Regions from separate parts of the Homo sapiens genome. Here all the other regions are linked to region 2. Evidence: promoter capture Hi-C in 16 types of primary human blood cells and fetal thymus (Javierre and others, 2016). All regions are on one chromosome and are shown on one strand. The core of a region is centred on a gene start or on the middle of the fragment in contact, and the rest is flanking DNA. Distances in the headings are between cores, read along the strand shown. Region 1 has its middle 85 kb from the start of TNFSF8. Region 2 holds the start of TNFSF8 (TNF superfamily member 8). Region 3 has its middle 23 kb from the start of TNFSF15. Region 4 overlaps TNC (tenascin C). Region 5 has its middle 4.5 kb from the start of TNFSF15.

Region 1 (3,979 bases), core at 1,136-3,635, 85 kb before region 2:
GCCACAGAGGAAAATACTCTTTCCTCCTCCCCTTGATAGCCAGGGCATGGGCACGTAACTTGGGCTTTGCCAATTAGATGCCCACAGAGGGACTTCTAACCTTTAGCAATGAATGCAAAACATAGAGTGTAGGAGACTGGCTCCCCCACAGAATCTAGCACTGAGGCCATCTATCCGTGGGATCTGTGGCCCAGCACCACGCAGGGTATAGCCATATCTCTCTCTAATGGTGACAGTTGTTTCCAGCAGTGACAAAGGCAGACTGGCTGATGATTCCTGCTACCTGGCCTCCTTTGGTTCCTGATAATTTTCTGTGCCTGCTTCTTCAAACTTTCTGTCAGTTTTATGAGCTTCCTGATATCCTTCCAGAAAATTCCTTTTCTGCTTAGGTAGTCCTAGATTATTTCAGGTCCTTGAAGCCAGATACCTTGGCTAATACTTTCCTCCCTAAACCATGAGCCTGTGACATTTATTGACCCTCTTGTAGTCCCAGCACTGTGTTTGACACTTTAAATATCCAAAGTATCCTAAGCATCATAGTCACCTGTGAGACAAATCGAACTATTCCATGTCATGTAGAAAACTAGGCCTCAGAGGGGTCAGGTGGCTTCTCGCAGCCATGCCACTGGGGTCAGACCAAGATTCACAGCCAGGCTGCCTGATTCCAAAATCCAAGTTCTTTTCAGTGAAGATATCTTATTCCTTTCAACAAGCCACACTAACTGGAAAACAGAACTTCATTCTTTTCACAAATGCTTGTGGAGCACCTCCCGTGTGGATTTGTCAGTGAAAAAAAGAGGAAAATATCCCTGTGGTCATAGCGTTTATATTCTAACAAAACACAATGAATGATGAATGTAATAAATGATCAAATTAAATGGTATATTCAAGGGTAATAAGGACAAAGGGGACTAGGGTAAGGGGATAGGGTCACAGTATTCAAAGTAGGGTGGTCACACAGGGTGGGCCTGTGAGAAACCCTCAGGAGGCACAGAAGATGAGCTCAATGAATATTTGTTGCATTGAATTCGTGCTCATCTCTTTCCTTCTGAAGATGGGGAAGCAGCAGTCCAGAGGAGGCTGGGGATCATCCCAGGCACCACAGCAACCAGGCAGGAGATTCTGATGAAAATCCAGGCTGCATACTCCTCTGCAGTGTGGCATGACTGTCTGTTCTCCAGAAGGAGAGACACACCTTGCAGGTTCTTCCTCACTGAGCCTCCTATGACCTGTATGCTCTCAAAACAGCTGGCTACACAGCCCAGTCCTTCCCCATTCTCAGCTTGCCCCACCCAAGCTGGTCTTCCCACCATGCCTTGCCTAAGCCCGGAAAATCCGAGAGCTCCTTGTGGGCTGTCCTCGTCGGTCTCCTTCTAAGATTCTCACTTCTCTTTTCATTTAAAAATCAGTGTTGAGCACCTCCCCGCTTATGCTCAGCACTATGTGAGTGAAACAACCACATTCCCTGCCTCCATGCAGCCTCTGTGCCCCAGAGAGGTCAGTGACAAACACATGATCAGACAAGCAAATGTGTGATTACAAACTGAGGGCTGTGCTTTGGAAGCAAATATAAAAAGCTATGAAGACGTCTAAAGGGGATCTGAGGGGGAAGGCTCTCTGAGGAACAGACATTTGAACCCAGATCCAAAGAGCAAGTAGGAGTTAACCAGGTGAAGGAAGCAGGAGAGGCAGAAGGCAAAAGGCAGGTATCTCTATAGTCCTATGGCTGTCACGCTGTGCACAGAGAAAGCCAGAGGCATAGGTGCAAAAGATGCATTGTGGAAGATGAGGTTTCAGGAGTCAGTAGGAACCCAGCCACGCAGATCTTCCTGGTCCAGAATAAAAATTTTGCTTTTTTTCTTCAGTTCAATGGAAAGCAACTGAGAAGTTTTCAGCAGGAGAGCATTGTGATCACATCTGTTTTTTTAAGCCATCTTTTTTGTTGCATTTGGATTTTGGCTGGGAGGTGCAAAGTGGGAAGAGACCTTTGAGGAGGCTACTGTAGGAATCCAGGTGAAAGGTGATAGAGCCTGGCTAAGTGTGGTGTCGTGGAGACAGAGCTATGGTTCTAAGAGATATTTAGAAAGTAAAATTCATGGGGCTTAGGGTCCCAGAGAGCTCTCTATGTCCCCACCCTTGTTCCTGAGCAGCCCTCAACTCCTATAGTGGATTTTTCCTGGATGTGGGCATCAGTTTTAATTAAGGCAGGCTAGTTAGGGATATGGGAGACTGGATTCAGGGGCCCATTAACTCCTGGAGCACTAGGTTAGGGTGGGGAAGGAATCAGGAAGCCTCCCTCAAGGTGACTGCAGCTAGAAATGAAGACCAGTGGTAAGGCCAAGGGGAGGCTTGTGGATGGACACAAGGGATGACAGTGTGGGGAGCAGAGGTGAGGATGGAGGTAGACCCTTGCCTTGAAGGCTTGGCGTCCTGGAGCCCAGCTGAGAGTTGCCAAGGGTTTTCAGCCCCAGATGGCATCATCAACATTGCTCTTTAGAAAGCCTGCTTCCTCACTAGAGATGCATGTGCCCCTGGCCACCTGTGCCCCCCAGCCTCAATGGGGTACCAGGGGTGCCCTGCATGTGCCTGCTGCCCAGGTTTGGGCTGGCAGGACATATAAGCAACCAGCAGAGGGCTCACTCCCCTCATCCTCCTCCCTCCCTAGGGAACTCCCAGAGGAATTACAATCTCTGTAAAGGAAGTAGAAAAAGGCTTTCTTGAGAATTGTTTCAATCCCACCAGGATGTAACATGGATTTCAACATTTTACAGGAAAATAAAACCACACACATGCAGTCAAAATAAGCAGCTCCGACTGGGCGCAGTACCTCACGCCTGTAATCCCAGCACTTTGGGAGGCTGGGGTGGGCGGATCATTTGAGGTCAGGAGTTCGAGACCAGTCTGGCCAACATGGTGAAACCCCATCTCTACTAAAAATACAAAAATTAGCTGGGCATGGTGGCGCATGCCTGTAATCCCAGCTACTCAGGAGGGTGAGGCAGGAGAATCGCTTGAACCCAAGAGGCAGAGGTTGCAGTGAGCCGAGATAGCACCACTGCACTCCAACCTGGGCAACAGAACGAGACTCTGTCAAGAAAAAAAAAAAAAAAAACAGCTCCCACATTTGCCTAGCACATTTGCCCAGCACATTTGCAATTACAGGTTAAGAAATTGTTTCTCAGAGTAGTGAAATGACTTCCCCCAAGTTCACTCAGCCTCCAAGTGTCAAAGCTGGGTTCTCTGACTCCTTGAGTCACAATGCCTTAAGGAACATCCTTCTGCACAATTATTCTTTCATTCACTCTTCCAATTAGGACACTTGGAGCACCTGCCATTTACTGGTTCCCTCATAACACTTTACAGTTTGCAAAGCCAACGTGTTTATAACAATTTCTTTACAGTCACCATCTTTTTAGTGAGAGCTGAGCTCAAATCCCATGTTTTCCAATTACTGGATCATCTTGGTCTAATTGCTTAATTCTTCTGAGCATCCATCAAAATGATCATGAAGTGTACCTACCCTGATGAGAATCTGTGATAGTTTAAAAGAGAAAACCGACAGCATCTTGCCTGGAGAAAATGCTGTCAACACAGGTTTGTCTCACTAAAAATTGAAAGGCAAACTAAACATTTGGGTAAAAATCCTCAAGTCAACCAGCAGATGGCAGCCTCCACCTGGCTTCGGGAGGGCACTAACCAGGCACTCCTGGTAGATGTGTTGAAGTGGATGGGGCTGATGTCTACCGGACTTCTTAGGCTCATAGACATCTTTAGGTAAACAACTTTGCCTTCATGCTAATCCTTCTCTCAATAAGAGGCTAGAACCCTTCCCAGAAGTGGGAAGGAACTTGGCAGGCCTCCTTTTATGTTCTTGACTCCCCATCTGCTACACAAAAACGAGCACCCTCACCCTACCACCTCACTGATCACCTCTTGCAGGTGTACACTGGGGTGGGGGGACAGGAACATGAGACACAGG
Region 2 (3,957 bases), core at 522-3,021:
AACACACTGTTTTCAAAACCAAACTCAATTGGGATCACGGGGGCCTCGGTTTCCTTGATTGTAAAATGGGTATATCGCCCCCCACTCTATTTAGCCCAAGAAAACAATTTATCTCTTGATGTCTCTTTCGTCTCCAGGATCTATGCTTTTACAGACTCACTGGGAGGAAATATCCAGACCAAATCCTAAAGCCTGATCTAATTTGGGAGATGCTCAGAAGTTTTGGTTCTATGCAAGAACAGCAGTGGTAATAATCCAAGCTTGGCTTTAGACACAGGACGTTTCCTTAGGGGCATCTGGGATCTCTGCTGGCTCAAAGTGATGCGCTGCAGACAAAAAGTGAGCAGAAAGGAAAGGAGGTGCTATGCAGAATGAGCTTCTTCCACGGTGATACCAAATGGAGCTTTCAAAGGCCCACATCTGGAGGCAGCAGCTATGCAGTGATTAACATTTTAAACGGTATTTTGAAATGGAGATCATTAGTAACCACAGATGTGATCTGACTCTGTCCCCCAGGTAATCTGTCTATTGTATCTAAATTCCAGACTTAGCCCAGTAGACAGCTTGGGATGTTTAACAGGAATTGTCCAACACCATCCCCAAATCTATTTTTATTCATGGAGTACTCTGACATCATCTCGCTTGGTCTTCCTGATGACTGTAATGCAGATTGGGAACAGAGAAAGCCATAAAGACTTGTATGATGGCCCAAGGCTAAGAAGGGAAAGGGCTGAGACCACACTTCAGGTTTTAGCTTTCAGGTGCAGTGAAGATTGAATGACTTAGCACGAGCTTTCAGCCAGGCAGGCTGCAAAGTGCACCCAAGTTCTTTCAGTGATCGACACTTGCGACTTAGGTTGAGATAGTTTTCATCCTCCCTGAGCCTCAGTTTTCCCATCTGTAAAAAATAAACATTGCCTGCCTCGGAGGGTGGAGGTGGAAGTGGAATGAAGCCACATGTAACTCCTAGCGCTGTGCCTGAGACAGTAGAGGTTCAATTATAGTAGTCACATACACACACAACACATACATACACAAGACACAACACACCACACACAACACATACATACACACCACACACAACACTTACATACGCACCACACTCGGCATGCATTGCAGATCACAAATGCACACCACACACACACTGCATACATATACCATAGAGAACACACAACACCTACACATACCCCCATACCACAAATACACACACACTACATAGTACACCACGCAGAACACACACAGCCCCCATATTCCACACCACACCATCTCACTGCCAATTCCTTCCCCTCTTCATGAGTTTTACGGCAGGTCCAGGTTCATCTGCCAGTTTAACAGATCCCAAAACTTCTGCAGGAGTGTTTGTTCAAAAGATTGATATTTCCAGATTCCTGCTTTCTGACAGTATCTTTGAACCCCAAATTTCATACTGCCATGAGCCAGTCCCCCTTTGGAGAAATATCTCCATTTGTGTGCCCTTTTTCCCCCAGGGAACCTGCAGCATGTCCCTTTTTCAGCAGTAGCCTATCAAACCGAACCCTTTGGAGTTATTACACTGCAGTCCGAGGGATCCGGCCTCCCTGAGACCCAGCAAGGACTCATTATCTGGGGAGGTCTTCTGAGCCACAGGCCTCGCTGAAAGAAGGTGCAGCTTCTTGAACAGGAAGGCGTTTTGTGGCAGAGTCTAAACGAAACAGAAGTTGCTTTGTGTGTGCGCACGCATGCACACACACACACACACACACACACATACACACACACAGTCGGGGAACCGTCATTTTCCTACGCGCCCTCTGACATCAGCCACCTTCTCTGTAGCTAGTTTCTCTGCACACAACTTAATCCCTGGCAATGAAAAATGAACCTCTCCCCCACCCTTGCTGCCGCCTCTCGCCTCACGCCCCCAGAGAAGAGTTTCTCCACCAGGCAGCAGGTGAAGGTTTTTTTCCAAGTCACATGATTCAGGATTCAGGGGGAGAATCCTTCTTGGAACAGAGATGGGCCCAGAACTGAATCAGATGAAGAGAGATAAGGTGTGATGTGGGGAAGACTATATAAAGAATGGACCCAGGGCTGCAGCAAGCACTCAACGGAATGGCCCCTCCTGGAGACACAGCCATGCATGTGCCGGCGGGCTCCGTGGCCAGCCACCTGGGGACCACGAGCCGCAGCTATTTCTATTTGACCACAGCCACTCTGGCTCTGTGCCTTGTCTTCACGGTGGCCACTATTATGGTGTTGGTCGTTCAGAGGACGGTAAGTGGACTCCTCTTCCTCCCTTTCCTTTTCTTGTTGTTTTCCCGAGAGAAAGAGCCCTGGGAACAAATGATATTCGTTTGTTGGTTAAGAGCACAAAATAAAATTAAATAAATAAACTCTCTCTCTCTATATATATATATATACTATAGTATATACTGTATAACGTAATACACTTATGTTACATAATATATATTATATTATACAGTATATATTATATATATATATATATATGAGAAAGGGAGAAAAGAAAGAGGAACTTAACTCTCTAAAATAATTTGGCTTGTTGAGAAAAATATTGTTAGACCATCATCTTAAAACTTTGCAGATCTGTCTGAGCAAAACAGTGGAGGGGAGCTATTGGCCTTTTAAAGTTAAGATTTAAATCTTAATGAGCCAGAGACCCATATCAAGGAAGGAAGCAATAGAGAAACCTGATAACACATTTGCACAAGTTGTTATCATGTCTTCAAGGACTTCAGACTGGATTCTGAGGTTCTATATCCTAAGTCTGAGTGTCCTGGAGGTTTCTGAGGCCTCACCCATTGCCAAGAGTTTTGTTTTTGCTTTTGTTTTATACAAGGAGCTAAGTTTCAGAGGCCAAGGTCTAGAAGGAAAGGAGGCGAAAGAGAAGACCATGGCTTCTTAGAGCTTTGGACATTTTGGTGTTAAAGCCAGCAAGACAAATCGAAAGCTTCCTCTTAAGCCACAACTTTGAAGAAGTTAGGGCGTCACAAAAAAAAAAAAAAAAGAAACAGCACATAGAAGCAGAAAGTTGAAAGGTTTTTAGCACCTGTTCTCTCTGATGTTCCTCACAATACTAAGCAATCGTTGGGTACACACTGTACAGGGTCAGACTGTCTTCGGAGATTTACTTTGAAGTAAATGGTAAGATTTGTTTCTGAAAACAGAAGAGGAGGAGAAAGAGGAAGCTTCTTCATATTTTAGAAAATTGGTGTTTACAGAGAATCTACCAGTATATATTATATAGAAAATGCTGTAGTAATAGCATATATTGCTCATGAATTTTTTGATGAAGTTGTTAATGGGTAATTTAAGAGCTGCACCCACCCACATGACCTGCCAAAGTGAGAATATTTCTGTTTCTTACTTCATAGTGCCTACTTTTCGTGGTATTATAATCCTGCTGAATTTATTCTGGTTTTTCTTCAGTTTTCTTAGGCCAAGTACTCTATAGCTTATCAATTGCTGGAAAGAACTAGGCTTTAAAAGGCTTTGATATCTATTTCTCAAGTGTCATCAAGCTTTGAAATTAAATGGAAGCTTTGAAGCTCATATCTCTACAAAAGTGAAAAGAAGGAGTTGCAAATATTTGATTTAGATAGTGGAATTCTTAAAACTCATAATTTAATGGCTTATCTACATCTATTAAGTATAATAATCTTGAAAACACTTTAGGACATCTTTTCTTCTGCAGGGGCTCTGCAATTTCTGTAATTCTAATTTGGAGTGAACCAAGGGTATGTCATTTTATAGCAATGGCCAAAGAAAAGAAATTGAAGTGTCCTTTAAGAAGTTCTTTAGTTAAAGGATCCAACTAGAACTGCTGAGAGAGAGAGAGAGATGGTGGAAAAATGGGTGGCGATGGTGATATATAAAGCTAGAGAGAACTTCAGAGCTCATTCATATCCAACTTTTAGTTGAATTGATTTCTTCTATAAAAGAACCAGAGCAGATCTTTCT
Region 3 (3,605 bases), core at 42-2,541, 100 kb after region 2:
GGACCTCTTTTAGGGGCTCTTATCAGGGAGGATCTAGCCATGTCCCTAATGGAAGGGAGAAGGCAGACTGAGGAGGAAAACCAGGTTGGCTCAGATCACATCTGCTTCTGCAGCCCTTCCCTGCCAGGTGGGGACTCTCCATACTCACACCTCGCCAGCTCTGCAGGGTGCTTTCCTTTGTTTCATTTCTAGATTCCCAGCCTGGCATTTTCTAGTGCCAATGTGTCATTCTCTCACCATCCCACTGGAATGAATGCCATCTTCTGGGCATACTTTTCAAGTACAATCAATACCTACCTCCCTTACAAACATCAAGAGCAAGAAAGAAGGCAGACCTGGAAAGCCCAAATCTTCCGATAACTGAAAAACATCCATATTTGAATAAGCTTATGGTCAGACACATTCAACAATCAGGTTTCCCAAGGGACTTTCCTCTGTAGGCTTCCAGCCTTTTCAAGAGGTTTCTACTACCATCACAATATGGGGAATAACTCCAGCTAGCCTCAGGAAATCAACCTTACATAGATTGAAATAACTGCACCCCTTCCATCTGCCAAAAGAGTTCTACTGTCTGTTTCCCAGGCAAAATATAGCCTTCAGGAAATATTGCCATTAGGCAATCAGAGTGTGGCTGCAATGAAGCATTCTAGAATGGCCTGAGATTGCCCTTGAAAAAAAAACTACTACTAGCTTTGCTTCCCCTCCCCAGAGACGAGGATGAAACAATAAATCAGACATTCCCACCCCTCTAACATCAAAATATATTTCACAGAGTATGGAATGAACCCACCTGCATGGATTGGATGGTCTGTGGCAGAGATGATTGCCAAAATTAGGGATTTAAACCACAAACCCAAGCAAAAACCACAAATTGAGAAAAGCATGTGCATACCCCTCTCCCAATCCTCTTGCCCCAGAGGAGGAAACAATCTGTGGACAGTGTCCAGAACCACTTTTCCTTCTCTGCAGAAGTAACAACTTTGACAACTGATAATCACTCTTGTTTGAAAGAGGGGAGCGTAAGGGAGTTTTGCTAACCCCAGAGGCAGAGTTTGCCAGGCCCAGACAAGGTCTGCTGACAGCAGAACACATGATTCTTACCCAGTTTGCTGGGTATTCCAGTCATTCTAGAATACTTTACTGCAACCACACTCAGATTGTCTAATGGCAATATTTCCCAAAGCACATATATTGCCTGGGAAACCGACAATAGAACTCTTTTGGCAGATGGAAGGGGTGCAATTATTTTTACCTATGTAAGGTTGCTTTTCTTAGGCTAGCCAGAGTTATTCCCCATACGGTGATGGTAGTAGATTAATTTTAACAAAAGACGTCTGGTATATCAGCAACGAAAGCACTTCTGGAGAAGGTAACAAATGTGCAGGGTTGGTCTATAGAGTTCTGATGACTTCCTTTTGCATCAGCATTTCAGAAAGAGCACTGATTTTGGATCAGACAGATCTGGCCTCAAAGCCTGACTGGTAAATTCGTTCTGGTAAACATTCTGGTAAATCCCACATTCTGGTAAATTCAGGCAACTCATTCCACCTCTCAGAGCTTCAGATTTCCACCTGTAAAATGGGAACAATAATGTCTTATATGGTTTGTGTGAGACTTTAACAGACAGGGTAAGTAAAATGCCTAATACATCACCTGGTCCATAATGGTCTTAAGTGTCCTATATCATTGCTGGTATTGTCATCACTACCAAGGTGGAGGAAGAGAGGACAAGCAGTGAGTTACCTCCTGATTTCTATTATCTCCATTCTCTAGACACCATTCTGCCTTCTGCCCAAGTTCATGCTGGCATGAAGGAGAACCAGCCTTGGCATTCAGGAGTCTAGAGGCCCAATTACCATAAACCTTGATGTATCTTAGCCCATGGTTGGCTGGTAAATGTTTAATGAAGGAGAAAGAGGACCTTGATTTGTAACTTTTGCTGATTTCCATGGTGTAAATATTCTCTCTGTGGCAAATTTCAAGCTGCCAATGTGATGTCACTAAACACAGAGTGGGAAAGAGATGAGCAACAGCAGAGCATTACATGGCATTTTCCTCTTTCGGATACAATACATAGGAATAACTTCAAGAGTACATTAATTACAGTAATAGTAAAGTCTAGCAAAATGAGAAGTAATGAGTTTTGAATATCCCTTACCTTTGTTTTCAATATAATTCACTTGATTATAAGCTTAAATAATTTTCAGTAATGGTTGTGTTTAACAGCCAGCTCAAAAAATTCCTGAAAATTTAACCAACAAGCCAGTATATGTGGGCTCCAGCTCGCTGCTGATTCTAGCCTGCTGATTTGTACCCACAGTATCAGTATCATCAGAATGGAGTTTGAACATAGGCAACGGGCTTGGGCATTAAAAGATTCCAATGACTTAGGATGGGACTTCCCCAGAATTCAAGACAACGTTCAGGGAGACAAATCCTCTTTTGACTAAAAATCCCTCCTAGAGAAAGTAGCCACCTTGGGGTCCTTAAAGGAGGGGATCACTTGATTTTCAACATTCAGGGCAAATCTAGTGCAAGTCAGCACACTGGAATGCCAGGGACTTAATCTGTAAAGTTGGAGAGGTGAATGGAGAAAAAACCATGGGCCATCATTGTGCCTCTGCCCCCACATGGCTATGTGACTTTAGGCCAGTGACTTCATCTCCCTTAGGCTCGTTTTCATCATCTGCAGAATGGGGACAGCACCTACCTACAAGTGTGGTTATGAGGTTGATGAGATAATGTATTCCAGCTGGCATTGTGAACTGCCAACCATTATAAAAATGTAAGGCATGGCTTCCATGGGGGGAATGAGACAGAAACCTGGAGTGAGGAAGATCTAAGTGGGGAAGGAAGGAGGAAGGAGGTAGTCAGTTTAGATAAAGGACAATGGAAGAAACTGGGAAGAAGAGGTTTGGAGTAGGAGGAGGATAAGGGAAGTGGAGGTAACAGAGGGTAGTACACAGCCCATTGCATTTAAAGTCATTGCCTCAATGTTTTTCCAACCCTTTGGTCACACTCACTGCAGCAGTTTCTTCCTTATTTCTTAACAGCTCCCATGTACATCCTAGTGACTGTGATCATACATTCTAATGATCATGAGTTTATGCTTGTATTCATGCTTTGACATCATCCCTACCGCCAAGAATAGATTCCAGTTTTCTCAGACTCCACCTTGTGCCCCTCCTCCCCACTATGGGCTTCTCCATGAATGGAGCTATCTCAACTGTACTGTTGGCATTGGATTTACCTGGCTACCAGAGCTCCATTTTGACAAAAATCCTTCTTGAGCTCTACCGTGTTTCCGTCTCTGTTTGACATGCAGCTTGAAATACTATTGGGCCTCAAATGAGAAAAACTGAAAATCAATTTCAATCAAGGTGATGGCTTGCCTTTTTCATGCCTTCATTTACTGGGTATTTTTGTGCAAGGATTCTTAACACAATCTCTTTCAAAGACACTCTTTCCTCTGGCCAAGGCAGAGTAAAAACAGGACAAATGTGTTGATATGCAACTTGAAACTTCTCAGCAGTGGAACACGCTATCCAGGAGGCAAAAGTCTTCTCATTACAGAAGAGATCCAAAAACAGACTGGACAATCTCTT
Region 4 (3,792 bases), core at 309-2,808, 100 kb before region 2:
ATTGTAATATGTTTCACCGTGTTCTTATGATATCAACTGTTAATACCATTTTTATCCAGTGTTTATATTATTTATATTCGCTACCCAAGAATTTTCTTTCTTTTACCTTTTAATTTGAAATAACTTTAGATCTTCAAACAAGCGAAGGAGATTTCCTAAACTTTACCTTCCAAACTTGTTATTGAATTTTTCATTTTGGTTATCTCACTTTATATTTCCAAGATCTTTTGCTTGTTCTCCACACATTGATCTTTTTCTGGCATTTTGTTTGTGCTTCCTATATCATCATCTCTTTATCTCTAAGAATATGTTGCTGGTATTTTATTCTATATCCTGCACAGTGTTTGTTACAAGTTTCTTTGTTTTGCTGCTGTTGTTGAGTTTGGTTTGGTTTGGGTTTCTGTCTTTCATGTTGGAGACATCCACCCAATGTCTGTTGATCATGGTCTGTCTTTTTGTATTTGAACTAGGAATGAAAGAGCTAATAGGGAGTTAGCTCAGGCAGGGCTTGTCAACTTTGTGGCTCCCTGCAGAATGATTGGGCAAGTACCCACAGTTTTCTTGGGGGACCCCCAAATAACAGTGCCATAAAACCTGGCCTCTCACTGTGTACAAACTTTCATCTTATTATGTTTCCAGTGTAGCACCTCGGCCTCCTTGAAGGCTGAGCCTGGTGGATTTGAATCCGGACTTCCTCTCTGGCTCAACCTTTCCAGAGAGTAAACCTCAGCCTACCATCTGAATGGGAAAGGGCAGTCATTTAGACTGTTGGAGGGAATGAGGAGATCTTAGAGTCTGTTTCTTACAAAAAAGCTTCTAAACAAACCAAACCTTTGTTCAACCACACTCCACATTGGCCTTTAAAGACATCTCTGCTTTTGTACACATTCCTTTACTGAACTTGCTGGACTCTGTGACTTGCACCAAGCAGCCTCTGACTAGCTCTGCCCATGCTCCTTAGTTAACCTCAGCCTTCTTCATTCATTCCCCTCCATGGTCTCTCTACCACTCACTTTCTATCTACCAAGTTTCTGGCACACCTGTTGCTGTCTCCTCTCCCATTCCCCTCATCTTCATGGATTTATACCTTACATTCTCTTGCTCTCTTTTTAGTGGGTTTTAGAAGCAAGTAGAGATGAGTGGCTGTATCCAATCTGTCATATTTAACCAGAACTGGACACATTGCTAATAACTATCATGCCCCTTCCTGGAATTGATATAACAATGAACTATCTCACTGTGTGAGCTGAAGCAAATCCTTTATCTTCTCTGGGTGTCAGTGTTCCCATCTGTAAAATGAATGCCTTGGACTTATCCATCTTTAAGGTCTTCTCCTTGTCAGGCATTCTAGGATTCTGTGTTTACCTGAATCATGAGTCTCATTTTGATCTAGAGTACCCTAATTGCCTAGAAAATGGCTTTGCACAGAAGCCTAGAGAACTGACAGGTAATTGTATTCCTAAGTAATTCAATGAACCCAGCTTTATCCCTGACAGTTGATCTTTCCCCCAGGGACTAGAACTGGGGGGCTGCAAAAAGGCCTCTGGGTATTAAATGAGCACTCATCCCAGTTTACTTTTCTGCATGTCCATTCACCAGCTTTACATGTCTTAGAAAAAAAATCAACCTGGTATAGGAGAAAAGAGTCCTGGACAGGGTGTTGGGAAACCCGCATGCAAGATCATCCTCTGCCTCCAACAATTTATGGAATGAGAGCAAGTCTTTTAGCTTCTCTGAAACTCAATTCTCCCATTGAAGAAAACAGGATAAGGTACCTTCCCAGTTCCCAGGATGCAGGAGAACCTTCCAGGGGCTTCTGCACTGATGCATGACTGCCCAAACTAAGCTGGCTGTTTGCAGGTTGTAGAGAAGATCGTTGTGCTTGGTTTACTAGGAGTGTAGGTTGAATTCCAATCCCAGACACTAAGGTCATTTGCTGAAAAGAATTGGAAGCTAGCAAGAGGGTGTGGAAAGAGGATTTCCTGCAAACTGAAACCAATGACCTCCTCTGTACAGCAGCACAGAGACCAGCCACAGACTACAAGTGTAGTTAGAGTTGGTCAACATCTGTCTGTCATGGATATCTCTGTTCTAGAAGAGAGACATGTGAGGTCAGCTTAAGTTTTAATCCTACCATGCCTATGGGGCTATTATAATCATCTCCTAACTCAAGAGATCCCCAAACTGACTGCACATTCAAATCACTTGGGAAGTTTCTTAAATATAGCCAGGCCCAACTTCTGGCTCTGATGATTCCATCAGTCTGAGATGAGGCCCAGGCATCATATTGTTTTAAAGCTTCTGAGAGTGATAAAGAGCTATATTTAGGGACCACTGACCTAACTGACCTCAAAGTCCCTTACCCTGTGTGATTCATCTTGCTACCAGATTAAGCTTCTTAAAGCACAGCTTGGTTTATGTCATTGGCATGTCCAAACATCTTTCAAGGCTCCCCATTTCTTGTGATGATAAACTTCAAGTTCCAAAGCTTAGCATTTATACCTTACAGGGCTCCTCACTCCGTTTAATGATAAACTTTAAGTTTCAAAGCTTGTCATTTAAAGGCCCTTCATAATCTAGTAACATTTTCCACTGTTCTAACACCTGAAGCTAAGTATGGTTGAGGTCGCTTATTGCCTCCTTATATTATTTCATTTTATGTTTTAAATCTGCTTTATTCAAAGTTTACTGATTTAAATATTAATCTCATCCAAAAAAAAACCCCCTTCACAGAAACATAGAATAATATTTGACCAAATATCTGGGCCCCATGGCTCAGCCAATTTAACACATAAAATTAACCATTACAATCCCATTCTCCCAATATAGTTTGGCAGGGCCTTGGGCAGGTGGTAGCCTTAGCCCTGGAGTCTACAGCAGTGCTCTCATCCTTACCAGATGCGGTCTCTCCCTCCTTATATTATTTTAACTTGCTCTGCACCTTCTGGCCCAAGGACCTTTGCTTGTGCTGTACTCTCCCCATCTCTGATATCTCAGCAGTGCACATGGAGCCTGGTAGAGAGTGGGTACTCAATGAATTCTTGTCCAGTAAGTAAGTGAATGGATGGGTAAATGAACTTATAAATAGAATGACTTCTTATCTATACCCTGAGAATTTCTGTGACCAAAAGCCATTATACTTTTTCTTCTGCTCTTAGGAAGTCATTGTGGGTCCAGATACCACCTCCTACAGCCTGGCAGACCTGAGCCCATCCACCCACTACACAGCCAAGATCCAGGCACTCAATGGGCCCCTGAGGAGCAATATGATCCAGACCATCTTCACCACAAGTAAGGAGGCCCAGGGTGCCATCCAGCCTTGAGATCTAACTTTGACTGAATCAACCCTTGACTTCCCCTTTGACTTCTACTTTAAAATTTTCAAACAAACCTCTGAAAAGAATCGATTCACTGCTACTACTTGGAAGCCTGAGGAAAGCAAATGTGGGAGATTATGAGCATCCCGGTGAAAGGAAAGGAGGAAGCCCATCTGGATTCAGTCCCCATTTCTATCACCTGCTAGGTGTGCCTTAAGAATGCTACTTCCATCCTATAATCTTTAGCTTCTTCGTCTATACAGGGAGATTAATAATAAATCCTCTGTCACCAGGACCTTGCAAGTGTTCATGAGGTATTGCATTTGAACTCCTAGCCCAGTATGTGGCCCATATAATTGTGTGGTCCTTTTATTGTCAGAGTTCAACATGAGCTGAAAGTCTCTTTCTTTCTCCTTCATCATGCCAGTGTTTACAAAACCTGTCCACATTCAAAATCACAAATGATCTTCCCACC
Region 5 (3,655 bases), core at 882-3,381, 120 kb after region 2:
CCTCGGTGCTGGCTGTTCTCTATTTCTGAACTTCTGCCAATCCTCTCTCCACATGGGCCCTACTCTTTCAACCAGAGCTTGTCATCTACCCAGAGATAGGTCTACTCCTATATTCTAACTGGAACCAAATGGCCATCAAATACAAAGTCATAACTCCAGGCTTTTTCAAGGGAGTACTTATTAGCTTTAAGAGTGGGACCAGGTTCTGCAAGATCTCATGTGTCTGGCAACATCACCTGCCTGGACCAGTGCCAAGAACTATGAAAAAAATTTTAAAAATGTTTCTCTGTGAGGCCAAAATAGACACTGTGAAATCTGTGCACTAATGCTCATCCCATGATTCATGGAAAGTTTACTAGGACCTCATACAGTGCCCACTGACTCCCATTTCTTTTCTGTTTTTGGATCTCAGATACACAGAATTGGAATAATCATCATCCTCAGATTATGTCACATTGTCATCAAGGTTCGTGCCTGGACTTCTTTTATTAAGTCAGCTAGTTAATTAGTTGCAATGTTATAAGTACCTAGTAACCCATGACATAAAATGAAAGCTAGGGCCTGGATGCGGCATCAAATGACACCATATGAAACCCTTTGCCAATCCACCCTCTGATCCCCCTGCTCAGGGTATCCATCACCCAGAGTCCTGTATTCATCTTTGCTTTGCTCTCCATTTCAATGAGTGGTATGTATATATGTCCATATGTGTGTGTGTACCACAAATGCACACATGTTATTTTTAACTTTATGTAAGCTTTGTTATATAAAATCTTTGGAAATTTGCATCTTCACTTAATATTATTGTGTTAAGATTCATCCGCATTGAGGCATGTTGCTGTTGATCCTTTATCTGGATGGCTGAACAATGCCCTATTGTGTGGCTCACCACAGTTTATTTGCTGCCTGCCTGATGACAGGCATCTGGTGTGCATCCAGGTTTGTGCCACTGTGATGACGGTGCTACGGTTAAGCTCCTTGTTCCTCATACATACCTCCTGTTGAACATATGTGAGGGTTTCTTTCGGGTATATGCCTGTAAGTGAAATAGTTGGCTGTCACCCTCTTGAGAATTTTTATTAATCCAAAGGGAAGCTAGATTTAAGCAAAGCAGGAAGAAAGAAAATGATTAAGAAGAAAGGAAAAGAAGAAAGATTTCTCAAAGCCTGATTTTCAGGGCATATTCCGCATAGGAATAACATTGCTCTTTGTGATTCAATAAGTGCAGAAGACTCAATTGTCTTCCGTTTCTTTAGTTTTCTAAAGTTAAAATGTTACTTTTATAATCATAAAAAAACTGTTTTAAAAGTTTAAACTGTATTTCAGAAAGGTTTCTATTCAAAATGTTTGCACTTTTTCTGTTGCCACTTAGAAGACAGTGAGTTAGCCACTGAAAATTTCTATTTCATCAAATAGCTCTTTTCCCAAGAGAACCAGATGGGGGGAGGTCTTGCCAACCATCGATGCCAGTCCAGGAAAGTAGGGCTATGCCCAAATAAGCACCCTTGCAGAAAGGCTGTGGATATTGCTCAAGTCCAAAACCTATCTAGAAGTAATTGCTGAAAAATGAACTTTTTTTACTAACTCAAGCAACAGAGAAAACATCTGCTGACCCAACTCAGCTGCCCTTGCTAATCCCTCATTTGCACATCATGAGGAAATTGCTATGGGACATTCTGAAAAATGTATTTATTAGCAAACAAGGATGTAAGCAAAGATGTGCAGAGATGGGTGGAAGGAACAACCAACAAGCAGAGAGAAGACACAGGGAATCACGAGACCCTGAAAACGTTAATGGTAGAAGCATCCTTAGCAATCACAAAGCTCCCTGTCCCCATTTAACACATGAAGAGAAGAAGGCCTGAAAAGTAGAAAAAATGTAGAGTCATCTTGTCTCAGTAGGAGCAAAAGCTATAAAAGACATCAACTCCAATCATTTCTCCAATAATCAAATTTCCTCTAAAATATTCTCAATCAGTGGCCATTCAGGTCCTGTCCTTATCGTTGAAACAGAGAGCCCCCACCTCTGGAAGCAACATGATTTATCTTTGGACAGTATTGACAAAGTCTTCAAATTGAGCCAAAGTTTGCCTTTCAGTAACTTCTACTTATTGCCTAGTTCAACCCCCTGAATGCCATACAGAATGGTAACAATAATAACAGCAACAGTGATAATAATACCAGTCCGTAAACAAAATCCAAAAATATCTAAAAACTGAAAGCATTTGGCAGCAAAAGCTGACCTGAAAGGGCATGTGTTGTTGGGAATTGTTACCTATCACATTCAGTATGAGTATGTTGGGCTGCAGAATTCTTTCTGTATTTGATTATTAGGTGTTGTTTCAGACCCCACCAAAAGTGTTATGAAATATAAGGTATGTGTAATAGGTTACTCAGGACAACCATATAAAACTATTATTATTGCAGGTCAAAAATGACCAGATATATGCAATTTCAGATGGTTCAACTTAATGCTTTTTGAAACCTGGCTCCAAGGACTTGAGATACAGGATTTGACGGCCTGTAATCTTATGGAGACCCTCCACTTTGAGTATTAACTGTGTGGTAGGTGCCGTGTCAAGCATGACTCTCAAATTAGTATCTCCATGCAAGCCTCTGCCTGGAAGCCCCAAATAACCGTTCATCTACCTATTAATTGCCTCCGCTTGGTCATCTAAAAGTCCCCTTACTTTATTTATCTCAATCTCCGCTCTCAAGCATCTAGCCAAAGCCTGCCCTGCCTCCATTAAAGATGTCTTTACGCACCCCACGCTCAAACAAAAAGCCCTTGACTCAGACTTTTCTCTTCTCTTTCTCTCTCACTCCACATCTAGCATAATAAGAAATTATGTCTGCTCTAGTTTAAAATATTAATATATCCAGGATCCACTATTTCTTGTGACCCTCATTGTCATCACCTCATCCAAGCCACCATCCTGCCTCTCCTGGATGATTGCAGTGGTCTCCAAATGGGTCTCCCAGACTTCAGGCTGTTCTCAACACAGCAAACAGGATGATCTTTTCAAAGTAAAATCAGAGCCTGCCACCTCTCCGCCCATCACCTTCCAAAGAACCCCTACTCCACTCACCACCACCTCTCTTCCCATCAAACTCAGTGAAGAAGAAGCCAAGTCCTACCTGGACCCAGGAGGACACACACGGTCAGCCTCCTCCATCACTCTGACCTTGTGGTCCCCCCACTCCCCCTCACCCACTGCCCCAGCTGACCTGGCCACCTTGCTGCTCTGTAAATACACCATGTACACTGGCTTCAATGCCAGGCTCTCTTCCTCCAGACACCTCCACGTCCTCCCCCACCCTCTTCAAGTCTTCATTCATATGTCTCCTCTCAATGAGGTCTATTCTGACAACTCTATTTTCAATTGCAATTAAGATCATTTATCTCTTTTTTTTTTCTAAATCACTTAAGGCCATCTAATGTACTATAAATTAACTTATTTGTTTTAATTACTGGCCGTCTCCCCCCACCAGAATATAAGCTTCATGAAAGCAGGAGGTTTTGTCTGTTCTTTTCACTGTTTTATCCCCAGTACCTAGAACACTATCTTGCACATACTCAAGTGCGATAACTCATCATTTATCTGTTAAGTGATTTACTTTTTGCCTTTGAATCCACTGAGATTCAAGAAGGAAA

The links. The method cuts DNA at HindIII sites, captures the fragments that hold promoters and counts their contacts. A CHiCAGO score of 5 or more calls a contact.
Region 1: a contact is called between a fragment that was not itself captured here and the fragment with the promoter of TNFSF8 in region 2, in 14 of 17 cell types (activated CD4 T cells, monocytes, naive CD8 T cells and 11 more). The highest score is 27.2, in activated CD4 T cells.
Region 3: a contact is called between a fragment that was not itself captured here and the fragment with the promoter of TNFSF8 in region 2, in 3 of 17 cell types (activated CD4 T cells, naive B cells and monocytes). The highest score is 7.8, in activated CD4 T cells.
Region 4: a contact is called between a fragment that was not itself captured here and the fragment with the promoter of TNFSF8 in region 2, in 1 of 17 cell types (monocytes). The highest score is 5.3, in monocytes.
Region 5: a contact is called between a fragment that was not itself captured here and the fragment with the promoter of TNFSF8 in region 2, in 10 of 17 cell types (total B cells, activated CD4 T cells, monocytes and 7 more). The highest score is 9.7, in total B cells.

Annotation. Positions count from the first base shown.
Region 1 is chr9:115,013,875-115,017,853 of GRCh38, reverse strand. No RefSeq gene overlaps it. Among named protein-coding and RNA genes, the nearest start is that of TNFSF8, 85 kb to the right of the region's middle. RefSeq lists an enhancer at 3,574-3,763. The HindIII fragment of the contact is 6,629 bases long and covers 1-3,979 here.
Region 2 is chr9:114,928,405-114,932,361 of GRCh38, reverse strand. It overlaps TNFSF8 (TNF superfamily member 8), which reads left to right and starts at 1,771. Exons shown (of 4, transcript NM_001244.4): 1 at 1,771-2,253. The coding sequence starts at 2,059. RefSeq lists an enhancer at 2,118-2,677. The HindIII fragment of the contact is 2,687 bases long and covers 263-2,949 here.
Region 3 is chr9:114,827,229-114,830,833 of GRCh38, reverse strand. No RefSeq gene overlaps it. Among named protein-coding and RNA genes, the nearest start is that of TNFSF15, 23 kb to the right of the region's middle. The HindIII fragment of the contact is 1,805 bases long and covers 389-2,193 here.
Region 4 is chr9:115,031,052-115,034,843 of GRCh38, reverse strand. TNC (tenascin C) reads left to right here. Exons shown (of 28, transcript NM_002160.4): 23 at 3,159-3,291. Among named protein-coding and RNA genes, the nearest start is that of TNC, 85 kb to the left of the region's middle. The HindIII fragment of the contact is 1,485 bases long and covers 816-2,300 here.
Region 5 is chr9:114,808,760-114,812,414 of GRCh38, reverse strand. No RefSeq gene overlaps it. Among named protein-coding and RNA genes, the nearest start is that of TNFSF15, 4.5 kb to the right of the region's middle. The HindIII fragment of the contact is 2,743 bases long and covers 760-3,502 here.